Linked DNA regions of Homo sapiens: region 1 is linked to region 2. The links are contacts of gene promoters, found by promoter capture Hi-C in human tissues and cell types (Jung and others, 2019). All regions are on one chromosome and are shown on one strand. The core of a region is centred on a gene start or on the middle of the fragment in contact, and the rest is flanking DNA. Distances in the headings are between cores, read along the strand shown. Region 1 has its middle 31 kb from the start of DYDC1. Region 2 holds the start of MAT1A (methionine adenosyltransferase 1A).

The links. Contacts are between HindIII fragments. The study calls those that stand out against the background at their distance.
Region 1: a fragment that was not itself captured here is called in contact with the fragment with the promoter of MAT1A in region 2 in 3 of the 25 tissues and cell types used here (hippocampus, liver and pancreas).

What each region holds. Positions count from the first base shown.
Region 1 is chr10:80,322,885-80,329,226 of GRCh38, forward strand. No RefSeq gene overlaps it. Among named protein-coding and RNA genes, the nearest start is that of DYDC1, 31 kb to the right of the region's middle. The HindIII fragment of the contact is 3,902 bases long and covers 1-3,413 here.
Region 2 is chr10:80,285,382-80,292,455 of GRCh38, forward strand. It overlaps MAT1A (methionine adenosyltransferase 1A), which reads right to left and starts at 4,277. Exons shown (of 9, transcript NM_000429.3): 1 at 3,952-4,277; 2 at 131-208. The coding sequence starts at 4,042. RefSeq lists an enhancer at 4,112-4,406. The HindIII fragment of the contact is 4,006 bases long and covers 2,431-6,436 here.

The DNA.
Region 1 (6,342 bases), core at 213-2,712, 35 kb after region 2:
CACAATGACTCTGATGTGGGGAGTGCTGACCTCATTTAACAGAGGAGGAAGCTGAGGCCCAAAGAGATTAGGTGATTTATTTTGGCTTGTACAACTGGTAAGTGGCACAACACCTAAACTCAGCCCTTCTGACTCCAAGTAGTCCCCTTTTCCTACGCTGAACTGCCTACTAAAGTTATTTTAATTTTTACCAATTCAAGATAAGTAATTACCTACAAATTGTGGCTGCTTATTTATCTGCTGCCAGCTACTCTAATGCCTTCTGCGCCATAGCTTAGAAAAAAGCCTTTTACACCCTCATTTGCAGAAAGCTTAACACTGACTGTTCCAAAGCTATACCCAAAGAATCCTTGAACAATGAAGCAAACACACATCTCTAATTCCACTGCTCAGTATTATCTGCTCTCACAAGAATCACTTGTACTGAAGTACTGAGTGCAGTGAATCATCAGACATCATAAAGGCTCAGAACCTGCAGCATGGGCCAGAGGCATTGTGCCACCACCCACCTCCCCACGCAAAGCAGCCCTCTACTACCTTCCTTAGAACTGCTGCTCTGCCCTAACCTCCTCCAGCAACCCCAGGGCCGATCAAACACGTTTCCTCTCCTCTCCTCTTCTGAGTATACCCCAGGCCCTTGTTATTCAGTGTGGTTCCTTGACTAGCAGCCTCAGCATCACCTGGGAGCTTGTTAGGAATGCAGGCTCTGGGGCCCCACCTTAGGCTTGGAAATTAGAATCTACAGTTTAAGAAAAAGCTCCAGGAATTTATAAGAAATTACAATATGAGAAGCAATACCCTATAAAAAAGGACAGAGCAACTGAAATCCATCCTCTCTGTCACACCATCCATCCTTGGCTACTGGTTCTTTAGGCTCTCAGAAGGTATTATGGCCACATTCAAACCCTTCAGCACCAGCCCACCTGCTCATCCATTCCCCTAGTATATCCAATCCAGCTTGGTTTTATGGTTTAGTAAAATAGCTTGGCTACTTTACACTAAAGTATGAATAGCTAAGTGCCTACGAACACAGTGGGTTCTGATGGAATGTTACTAAGAAATGATGAGAAAGTTTTAAAGTCAAAAAAATTTGGGTTTGTATCTCCATTCGCTCAACGATCAGCTGTGAGAATCTCAGAAGCTTAAATAACTCTCTGAAATTCCATTTCTGCCTGTAAAAATTTAAGCTGTTATCTATCCTATATAAGAAGTTGAAATAAAGTATCTTGTGTACCAGGACTGGCACATAGTAGGTGTTTTCTTTCTTTAATGAATGAACCATAACATCAGAGGTAACTAAATTTCAAAATAGTACTGACACAAATAAATATCTAGTTGGTGTCCCTCCAGCCAGTGCGGCCACATGGGAGACACTCTGGGGCATATAAGCATTTCCTGTGAGTCATAAAATCCCATCTGCCAACCACCATCAGCCTTAGCTACACTGGAAGTCACTCACTGCACACCCCCCACCTGGAAAATTCTCCTCTACTAACTTATACTTTAGAGTCCTCTGATTCAAAAGCTGCTTCCCTTTCTCCTTGAAGAGTTTAATCCCCAAATTGAAGAAACAAAAATAATGGCAAGGGTGTAGGTAAGTTGAGATGTTTAAACTGTGACAGGCTCGTTTTTAGCACTTAAAATTTCATTTCAGCAATATCACCAATGTACATGCAATGAGCTAGAATGCTTATTATTCATTAAAACTGGTAAGAGAGTGCTTTCCCTGATTTTGAAATTGTCAATTTGATTATTGACTGTACTTGAAGACAATTTAATTGAAAAATCTAAACGAAAATACATGAAATAATTTTTAAAGATAATCCTTAAACTACATAAGTTTTTCAGAACTAATAATGGTTCATTACTTTATTAAACAAAAGATCAAAAAGCACAAAATATTAAAAAAGAGACATGTAAATAAACCTTACTTTTGCCAAACAATAAAGACCATAAACCAAGTTAAAAGGCAACCAACGACCTGAGAGATTTCCCAACACATATAACCAGCAAAGAAATTCAGTCAGATAAACAAATCAATAGCAAGTATTAGCAAATAATATGAACATGCAATTCCCAGAAGAGCAAATCCATTGTCCAATAAACATAAAAAGATATGTAACCTCACTAATAATCAGAGAAATGCTAATTAAACAACAAAAAAGCTACCACATTGCACTCCCGCCATGGGTAAAAAATGTTGACGTGTAAGATTACCAAGTATCTGAAAGGATTTGACATAACAGGAACTCTGTCCTCCGGGTAGGAGTGTAAACGAACATGACCACTTTGGAACACAATCTAGCAATATCTAGTAGCTTGAGAATGGCCACAACCTGAGCCCCGGGAATCGCACAAGTGTGCCTTGTATACCCAGCCAAGAGTAGCATTTTCTTAAGTGAGATTGCTGACCAGCAGTAGCAGCAGCATCTGGGTGCTTGTTAGAAATGCAAATTCTCCAGCCTATCCCAGACTTAAAGACTTACCTGGGAGTGCCTTTTAAGAAGCCCTCCAGCAGATTTAGGTACATGCTCAAGTTTCAGAACCAAGAGAGAAACTTCACACATTAGTTCTCCCATCTTCCAACAGGAGATTGTGTCAGAAGGGTACTAGGAATGTGGTCCTTGATACATTTTTTAAGGAGGAGAGTCTGACAGACCTTCTTTACTAGTACAGTGTCACTTGCGAGTCAAGAGAAAATGTGCAAACAATGGGATTCCCTCAAATACACAGAGATACATACATAGGTATATGTATAAAAGTAAAGCATTTAAAACACTCCAAACACCCACCAATAGAAGAACTGGTGCAATGGTTATGTTACACAGCAGTTAAAATAAATGAAGTAGATATAAATGTATCAGCAGGAATAAATCTTGAAAATATAATGCTGAGTGAAAAAAGCATTAAGTTAAAATCTCACCCAAAAAACTGTCTTATTTATGGATAAATATACATTTGTATTAAGACATCAAATATGTATAAGTGGGAATTACATCCACTGATTTTAAGATAATGGTTATATGTGGGCAAGAAATAAGAGGAATGGCATGAAGGAGGGGTACAAAAACATCAACTGTAAGATTTTGTTTTTTAAAAAAGCCGCCAATATATGGTAAAATGGTAATATTTGTTAATTCTGGATTGGGATAAAAGACATTGCTTATATTATTCTGTGTACTCTTCTGCATATTTGGACTATTTTACAATTTAAAAATTTAAAAGTTATTCCTTATATTTGCAAATACTAGAAAGGCTTATTTCTGTTTAAGAAAAATATATTTCAAAATGACTACCTCAAAAGGCTTTTAAAATTGAATCTTTGTGACATCTAGTGGTAACATAGTTACAATTTAATATACAATTATAAATAAGCTTGATTCAATGTAGTATTGATCTCAGAACAGTTGGTTTAATTTGACTTTCACAAAAATTAATTCAATTTTCAAAAGCTTGTACATTTATTTGCTGTTTTCAGTGTTCTATTCCTGAATATATATATATATATATATATATATATATATATTTTTTTTTTTTTTTTTTTTTTTTGACACGGAGTCTTGCTCTGTCACCCAGGCTGGAGTGCAGTGGCGCAATCTCGGCTCACTGCAAGCTCCGCCTTCTGGGTTCACACCATTCTCCTGCCTCAGCCTCCCGAGTAGCTGGGACTACAGGTGCCCGCCACCATGCCCAGCTAATTTTTTGTATTTTTAGTAGAGACGGGGTTTCACCATGTTAGCCAGGATAGTCTTGATCTCCTGACCTCGTGATCCGCCTGCCTCGGCCTCCCAAAGTGCTGGGATTACAGGTGTGAGCCACTGCGCCCGGCCCTATTCCTGAGCAAGGTTATTATTATCTTGTATACGTTATTTCTGTGGCTCAGCTGATGGCTTCCTGAAATATGTGTCAATTATGTTAATTCTAGTGTCCCCAAAACAGGTGGCACCCCTGCCATCCCCCTCCCTGGCTCAGTGAGAGAGCCATGAAGGAAGTTCTTAGTGTCTCCTTTACACCATGTTAGACACCAGCCAGGCAAGTGTCCCTCGAAGCCAGACCGGCACCTCTGCCTGACCTGAGCGCTCAAGGACCCACCATTGTTCAAGATTCAGGTTCTTCCTTGTCCTTCCTTGTCCTCCACCCCCATTCGATCAACTCCCAAGCCCACCTATGAAAAGCGTCACACCCATCACTTGTTTCCTGTAGAGGTCCTACAAATTGTGAATGATGTGCGAGCAGAGACCATGTTTTGCGTATATGCTTCCCATGAGAACCCAGTACAATGCTTGATACATAGTAGGCACACTGTAAGTGTTCACTAAATTAATTTCCACTGCTACAACCTAGGTACCACCTTCATTACCTTAAGCCTAGACTATCTTAACAGCAACCTTATCCTAAAAAATCCTAAGTACCACCAATGAAGCATCTTAAAACATCTCTGTAACATAACACCACTTTCTCATCCACCACTCCCCAAAGGGATTTTCACTGTATAATTCCCATCTCTATTCCCATTGTCAGCAGATGCCATCTAAATATCTTAGCCTGCTATTTAATAGGCTTCAAAAACTAGTCCAGATCGACTTTATGAACTTCTCCCTCACGACATCCCTGTACAAATCAGTTAACCTTCAAGCATCCTACAGGCATTCCCAGCATTATTTATTTCTCTGCTCACATTTTTCCTCCTGCCCACCCACGATCAGTTATGTGCCTTTGTGTTTTGCTGGGTTTTGTTGGGTTTAGCCTCTTACTTCCATGAAGCTCGATGTGACTTCTCTCTATGTAGAGTTAATCACAGTAGCTACCAAAGGGGTCTGTTGAACCTTGCATCATTATTCATCTTCTTTCCTATGCCCTTGCTCACCATCAGGATGCGTGCACCTCAGTGGTAGGGGACCACCTCTCACACCAGTTTATGCACTCAGAATCTAGCTAAGTGCTCAGAAGGGGGACAACTAAAAGAGATGTGTCGAAATGAGAAAAACTAGGTAAAGAGTGGATGGCCATTGATTGCAATCGGTATAACCCCTTTTAAAGCATTTCATGTGGAAAGTAGCTGTGAAGGCCCCACATGATTCTAAATAATGTATTAAGCTGATCTTTTATATTTTGACAAGGAGCTGAAGACAGTGACAGCAGGAAAATGACTAGTTAAGAAACCAATCACTTGCGGCTTCAGAACATGAGAGAAAGAGGAGTGAGTATTAGGCTCACTGTATTGGTCTAGAAGCATGGCAACCACAGAAGAGTTAAGAATGACTCCCACACTATAAATTGGAGCATTTGGACAACAGTGAAGCCACTTTATTATACTAAAGAAGTGAAGAGGAGGCCAGGTATCATGGATCATATTTGTAATCCCAGAACTTCAGGAGGACGGCTGGAGCCCAGGAGTTCAAGACCAGCCTGGGCAACATGGTAAGACCCCATCTCTTAAAAAAAAAAAAAAAAAGTGAAGAGGATAAAAAACTTCTAGGAAAAGTGAAATAAACTCTGTTTTAGAGATAGGCACTTTTTAATGCTGTTGGAATCTGCAAATGTATTCAGTAGTTATATTTCTAACATAACTGGGTGACAGGACCAGTTTCAACACTTACTGGTACAATGCTGAATGCTACTCTTTGAGACTTCATTTCCCTATACTTTCAAACACAAGCTCATACCAACTCTATAAACTCCCAGGGGAGCTGTTGGCATTAGTAAGTACTCCATGCTAGTCTCTATTCTCTCTTCTTCACCAACTTCATGCCTGACCCCTTCCCACCGAGACACAGTCCCCGCCTGTCTTGCCCCAGTCCTCACAGTATGTGTCTAAGCTAGACAATGAGCATCAACCCTGGTTCTAATTTACAGGCAAGCTTCCTGGTGGGGCCATAGTCCTTCCTCAACCACTTGGCTGGACCAGATCCTTGCAAAATCCTTTCCCATGAGCTGTACCCCTCACTGTCTCCTCTGCTACCTTGACCTCCCCCTTCTCCCACCACTGCTCAGTTCCTGGCCAGGAACCTGCTTTGAACAAGGTCACCACCTCCTTCCCTCCAGCCACAGTACTGACACCTACCTGAGAGTAAGCATGGGAGCCACGCACTCCAGGGCTGCTCCTACCTGACTCTAAACCCCTATGGTCCCGCGACAGTCTCCCAATCCTCAGTTCCAGGGCACCTCCATTACCCACTGACTCTGTTCTACCTCTGTGTTTGTTATGAGCTACTGGAGAATATAATAACTCTGATGAGATCTCTATTTACCTCACACAGCACCTAGCATGTAATAGCAGTAGTAACTACTTGTTGAGTGCTTACTAAGTGCCAGGCACTGTTGTAAAAGCTTTCCATGAAT
Region 2 (7,074 bases), core at 3,027-5,526:
AAATCTACTGCAGAGCAGAGGACATGGATTTTGGAACTGAGGAGTATGGCTCGTTTGTCTTATACCCATGATTAATTTCTCAGTCTAGCCCACTTAGGTCTCCAGCAGGGAGGGATCGGGTGTTTCTTACCACAGGCCACCTTGGCATTGGGGTCTTGCTTGAGATGGGCATCCAGCACTGCATCACTGATCTGGTCACAGATCTTATCTGGACAAGAGCAAATATGGGTCAGAATCACAAAAATATTCGGGATAACAAATTGAAATCTTAAAATAATTAGATATCGACTTTTCAGTTTACATATCAACTTATCTACCAGAGGGAAAACACTTTTTTTAAGTATAAGAAATTAGAAATACTTTGAAATTTTTATTTATTTCCATTCCTGCCTAATTTTGGATGACACGTATTATATAAAGTCATAGAATGCCCTAAAAAAGAAATACCTTTTTTTTTTTTTTGAGATGGAGTGTCAGTCTATCACCCAGGCTGGAGTGCAGTGGTGTGATCTCGGTTCACTGCAATCTCCACCTCCCGGGTTCAAGCAATCCTCCCACCTCAGCCTCCCAGGTAGCTAGGATTACAGGCTTGTGCTACCACGCCTGGCTAATTTGTTTTGTATTTTCAGTAGAGATGGCGTTTCACCATGTTGGCCAGGCTGGTCTTGAACTCCTGGTCTCAAGTGATCCGCCCACCTCAGCCTCTGAAAGTGCTGGGATTACAGGTGTTAGCCACTGCGCCCGGTCAAAATCAGCTCTTCTAGGAGTCTAACGCAACTCACACATAAACAAACACACACGCATTCTTCTAAATAAAAAATCTCTCATTCCTCATCATGTTCCCTTTAATTCTAACATCTACAAAAGTCCTGAAAATGAACTTAAAAATAGTTAAGAAGTCAATTTTACCTCTTTGCCAAGAGGTAAAATCAGACGGCTCAAACAGCTGCATTGCATGGCAGGTTCCACAAGATGCAATGCACCGTATATAAAACACCACACCCAAGTACATGACTCCACCCATAAGAATTCTACAAGATAACCCCTATACATCATTGTTGTTTTGCAGAATACTTCCATAAGCAGCTCTCAGATCTCCCACATGGTCACTCAGCCTCCCGAAAGCCAGGTGTCCTTAGAGCTGGGCTTGACCTCTTCAATTACTGTAGGACTGACAAGGGTTCAACATGAGCTGGAATTTGATTTTATTCTTCCACTATTTGCCTTAAAGACTCTGCAGGGTCTAAAATGTAAAGCACTAAATGGTGCTTGTAGGAAAATCTACTCTTGCTTTGGGGTTATGCAAACTGTCAATATCTACAAATTAAGAAATAAAAGTGATCTCTATCTACATATATTATAGCTCATTCAGTGTTAAAAATACCCACAGTCTGCTCTTAATAGAGTAATATGTTTTTGTTAAGAATCCAGATCCAGAATCAAGCAGTTTGGCTCTCAAAAGCAGATGTTAAATTCTGTAATTAAAGATATTCATTAATTCCTTAATCTTTCCTTTAGAAACTACTGCTAAACATATGTTTGAGGTTGTGTTTTGTTTGTTTGTTTGTTTGTTTAATCTAGCCTCCTGCCAGTGGCAGACCCTGGTAGTACCTTTAGGTTTGTCTGAGCCCTTAGCCTCTACACACTTCTACCACTGAAGGCCTCTCGCTGATAAAATATCCTAAAATAAATACATGCTGGCCACCTTAGGCTTACCCATCAGAGTTCCTAGAAGCTTGCTGACTGATCATTGATTGTGAATGTCTCTGCCTGTGCAGACACAGCTCACAGGCTCCCACTCTGCCTAGGGAAATCCAACAGGAGAAGGAACAAAGCTGGAGTCCAGCAGGGGCTTCCAGATAGCACCACACACAAGACAATGCCCAAGGAGGTTGTTTCTGAATTGTTTTTGTTTTTGTTTTGGCTTTCAAAATTTTTATCAATATCACTTAGTAGGCTTAAGATAGCCAATAGTTGTTTTTTTGGAAAACCAGAGAAGAAAACCTTTATCTTTCTAGCAGAGAGGAATTCAGCAATGGAATGACAAGCAGAAAGTCACCTAGCCTCCATGGAAACTGACTTACCTGGACAATTACAATGGCAAGTACAAGGGACGATTAGACAAATTGATTGGCTGTCATTAAGTATACAAAACAATCAATTGATTGGCTGGCACGTTCATTCTCAGTCCTCTGAGCACATTGCTGCTGCGCACAATGGACCATTCTTGGGACCACTAGCCGCTGCATGCCAAAAAACCCACTTCCTCCGGGTGGAGTGAATCTTTCTCCTAACCTATACATGAGGCTCATAGCCATGGAGCTGATCAGAATGTGTCAGAAATCAGCAATGTATCTGAGATTGAAAATACAGTAAACCTAGATACTTTATACAGTTATGCACAATGAAAGAGGCTATTTACATTGAACTGAGCTAAGTCACATAAAAAACTCAATTCAATTCAAGGTTTTTCAACAGCTGCACTATTAACATTTTGGGCCAGATAATTCTTGAGAGGCTGTCCTGTGCACTGTAGGATGCTTAGCAGTGTGCCTGACCTCTACTCAATACATGGCAGTAGCACCTTACCCCCACCTCCTATAGTTGTGATAACTGCAAATGTCTCCAGACAGTACAAAATGCTCTTGGGGGTTGTGGGGCAAAACTGCCACCAGTCAAAAACCACTGGCTAAAGTATATGGAAGGAGTAGTGCACTGAGGTGTCCAAAGCCAAGTTACAAGGTAGGAAAGATAAATATCTTTGAGGAAGAACAAGAGCAAGGAAGATGGAAAAAGGCAGACTTGGCAATAAGTTAGCAAACACTCGAATGAATTTTGAAGAGGGACTTAACTATAGAAGTCTGTACATCTATCCCCCAGGGGTCTCCAAGAGCAGTGGTTCTCACCCCAGAGCATCAGCATCTCCTGGGAACTTGTCAAAAATGCAAATTCTCGAGCCTCTCCCAAGACCTACTGAATCAGAAACTCTGGAGGGTGGGGCCCAGCCCTCTGTTGTCTTGACAAGCCCTCTGGGGGATTCTGAAGCTCCCTGAAGTTTGAGAACCACTGTCCTACACTTGAGGCTCTGAATGTCCTGGTCCTAGTTCTCACCGTCATCAAGGAAGCTTCTCTCACTTCCGCACATCACAGTCTACCTACTTTTCAGGGACCAAAATCAATGCCTAAATTTTCTTCCTGTTTAGAAGGTCTTCTATTCTGCTCTTAGAGAACGTTACTGAGTCCCCAGCACCTAGAGGTCTACCCCAGCAGTGACCAGGGTGCAGGCTTTCATGCCTAAGTTGCACATGCTTCACATGCAAAATTTAGTCACCCATGGTCTTGTTTCAGGAACATTCCCTGTTGACTTAAATTGGCCATGGATAATAGATTAAAGCTTTCCTAAAAAAAAAATACATATAAAAAGTTAAGACCTGATCATATATTTTGCATGTGTCATACTCTTAGCCAGCCAGCTGCTACTCCCTGTCTTGGACCCACTGTGCTGGCGTGCTGGTGGTGGGCCACAGCACGGCTTCATCAGGAGGGACTGTTTTATGAAACTACTCCATGCTGTTTCTCTAGAGATCCCTTCTGGTAACTCACACACATTGCTCTGAAGAGCTCTGGTAAAAGTGACTCCTACAGGTACGAAGTTACAGTCAGATAGGAGGAATGAGCTCTGGCATTCCATTGCGCAGTAGGGTGACTGAAGGGCTAGAAGAGGGAATTTTGAATGTTTTCACCACAAAGAAGTAGTCAATGTCTGTGGCAATGGGTATGCCCATTATCCTAATTTGATCATTAAATGTTATACTCATGGATCAAAACAACACACGGTACCCCATAAATATGCACAATTATTATGTGTCAAATTAAAACCATTTGTAAGTGACTCCCTCAGTATAGGCTTGGAATGATCGTTTTCCAGTCAGTCCAAGACAGCCTACTTACCCGGGTGTCCCTCTCCCACAGACTCCGATGTGAACATGAAGACTCCTTCACTTAGAGAGTGGTCACACAAGCCATCCACCGGTCCATTCATCTTCTCACACTTCTCCACTCACGCTTCTTTCAGTGAACAATTTTGAGGCTGTGACTTTGCCTGAGTTTTTTTTTCTTCTTCTTCTTCTTCTTTCAACCCAACAGGCTTGTCTTTGGCAGAGCCACGGGGATCACTTCTGCCTAACTGCCTGTGAGCACGTGAGAACAGGCGAGGACTGCTGAGAAGGGAGGGAGTGGATGGAACACGGGATGTGTCCCTCCCTCCAGCTTGCCACAGCTTGCTCCTGAGCGACTCCTATATATGGAAAAGCGAAAGTGCCTGAAAAATCATGTGAGAAAATTGGAGGAGTCCATTTCCTAAGAGGGGGGTCTTCTTACCTGGAGGAATTTCAATTCTTATCCCTGACTTTCCAAACTCTAAGCACCTGGTCAAGGTAAGGTAAAGAAGGCTGTATAGTTCTGCAGAATTGAAGCTCCTTTGGGACTCTCCTTCAGCTCTTAGCCAATCTTGGTAGTGCTCCAGAGTTCACAACCCACCTTGGAGAGCAGGGGTCTGTGATCACCCAGAGATACAAGCAGGCAACAAGAAACTCTTTCTCAGAGATATGGTTTAGGCTAAGATTGCAACAGTGCCTTTGCTGTTGGGTGTCCCCTCCTCCCCTGCGTCTCATCTGGATTGGTCTCTTCCCATTCTATCTTCTCAGGGAGAGCAGGAGCACGCACCTGTATTCTGAGCCAGCTGTGATGTTACACAACAGATTCATTTTAGAGGAAAAGCTTTGAGTCCACGTGTTTCTGCTAACAGAAACCACCTAACCTGTCAACTTCTCTAAAAGGCTGGCAGGCATTTTAACAAGCAAGATCTTTAAAAAGTATCTATCTGGGGAGGTTACAGAGAACAATGTGTGTGTGTGTGTGTGTGTGTGTGTGTTTTTTTTAGAAAAAAATGCTTTTGAGAAATGGATTCATTACAGGGAAATTATCAAAGTCCAGTTTCCCAAAGCTTCCGGATTATAAACATCTACATATTCAGTTCTATACATGTAATAAACATCGTGTTCACATAACTCTTGCATTATTTTTTGCTTTGACCAAAAAAAGTAGTAAACAGGATTATATCTTTAGTTCATGTACTAAATGACAGCGTCTCACACTCTCAGATCCAGCTGCATCCTCAGACCCAAGGAACAATGGGGAATTGAGACCACAGAAAATGAGGATGGGTGGAGAAACCAGTTCCCACTAGAATGCAATAAAAAGTAATCAACCATAACCTTGTGCATCAAAGCTTGGACTGTGGGAAGCAAAAGTTAGGAAGCAATAGCCTCACCTAACAATTCTGGTGACCAAACCCCCCTCTGAGTTTATTATCAAGCATTTGGAAAAATTTTTTCTGGCACACATTCTGGTGCTCCAAAGCTTGAGTTTTGCTAACTGATGACCAAACATCATCCCTTCAGGGAATTAAAGCAGTATTAAGGTGACCTCTTCTGGAATAAAGTAAGGGATGTTACATATGCATAGCCAATCAACGGCATTTAACAAGGAGTGAACTGAAGTGCTTAGGCACAAGACTGTTGAAAGTTCAGAGAGGAAAAGGCCACTGGGAAGGGATGGACAAACGAGGAATCAAATAGGGACTTTAGACAACATCGCCTTGTCATTGCCAGCACACAGGACTCCTCTGTTTGCACTTAAGCTATTTCAACATTGCTGGCCCTTAGTAAATTTCTTCTGGGTACATTAGTTTTAAACCTAGAGGCAATATGAGCTAATGTTTAATTTGAACTGTAGAACTAGGTGACCTTAGCAGTTAAAATTGTATGATAACAATTATGGTCCAAATTTGATTTAAGAACAAGATGATGTGTAAGTAGCAGGTACTCTTCAAGGTTCCTAGAGTTATCAGGAAGACAGAAAACAAAGCAGTAGCTGCCTTCTGAATTCCATAAGTAACAGCACCATGGGGTGGAAGGCGTCAGGGTGGGGAGACGATCTGTTACACAGATATGTGTGCAGGGGGCTTTGGCAGCCTGGATGCCAATTGAGGGTGTGAGGGAGGGATCTGAGAGGCACCTCGTTAAAAACTCATCTCAAGTATGAGTTTCATTTAAGACCCCAACTAAATACTAGGATGCCTTATATTCTTCTAGCAAGTAAATGTTAAGAAGCAGTACACGGAGCATGGTGGATGGAAGTGCAGGCTTCTGGACTAGGGTCCAACTTTTGCCTGTAACCTCCCATGCAGCATGGAGAAGGCTTCCTAACCTTTCTAATCTGTTGTTTCTTCTGCTGTAAAGCGGGTTAAATAATTACCTACCTCCTAGTGTTATTTTGAGAACTAAATGAGGTCATTTAGGTATGATGAGTATTGGACAAAGTGCTAGCACACAATACAAATTTAATAAATATCAGCTAATATTATTAAGCAGTCTATTTACATACATATGATTTTCCTCTGAACAAAAATAGATTATGGTATGTATACATATGTATGTATATGTGAATATACACATATACACATATAATTTTGCATCTCGCTTTTTTCCCCCCACAATATATCGTGGCCCTCTGTTCACATCTCTAAATACAGATAGGCCTTATGTTTTTTTATTGGGGGGGGATGAAGTCTCACTCTGTCACCCAGGCTGGAGTGCAATGGCATGATCTCAGCTCACTGCAACCTCCGCCTCCCGGGTTCAAGTGATTCTCCTGCCTCGGCCTCCTGAGTAGCTGGGATTAGAGGTGCACGCCACCACACTCAGCTAATTTTTGTATTTTTAGTAGAGACAGGGTTTCACCATGTTGGTCAGGCTGGTCTCGAACTCCTGACCTCGTGATCCGCCTGCCTCAGCTTCCCAAAGTGCTGGGATTACAGGCGTGAACCACTGCACCCAGCAGGCCTTATTTTTTAATACTTGAATAGTATCCCACAATAAGGATGTACCATAAATTATTAAACCATTCATTCCTCAGTGGTTAAATATTTTCAACTTCTCCAGTTATTTCACATCACTATAATGCTGCAGTGAAGGTCCTTATTCATCAGTATGTTTCTGAAAAAGATAATAA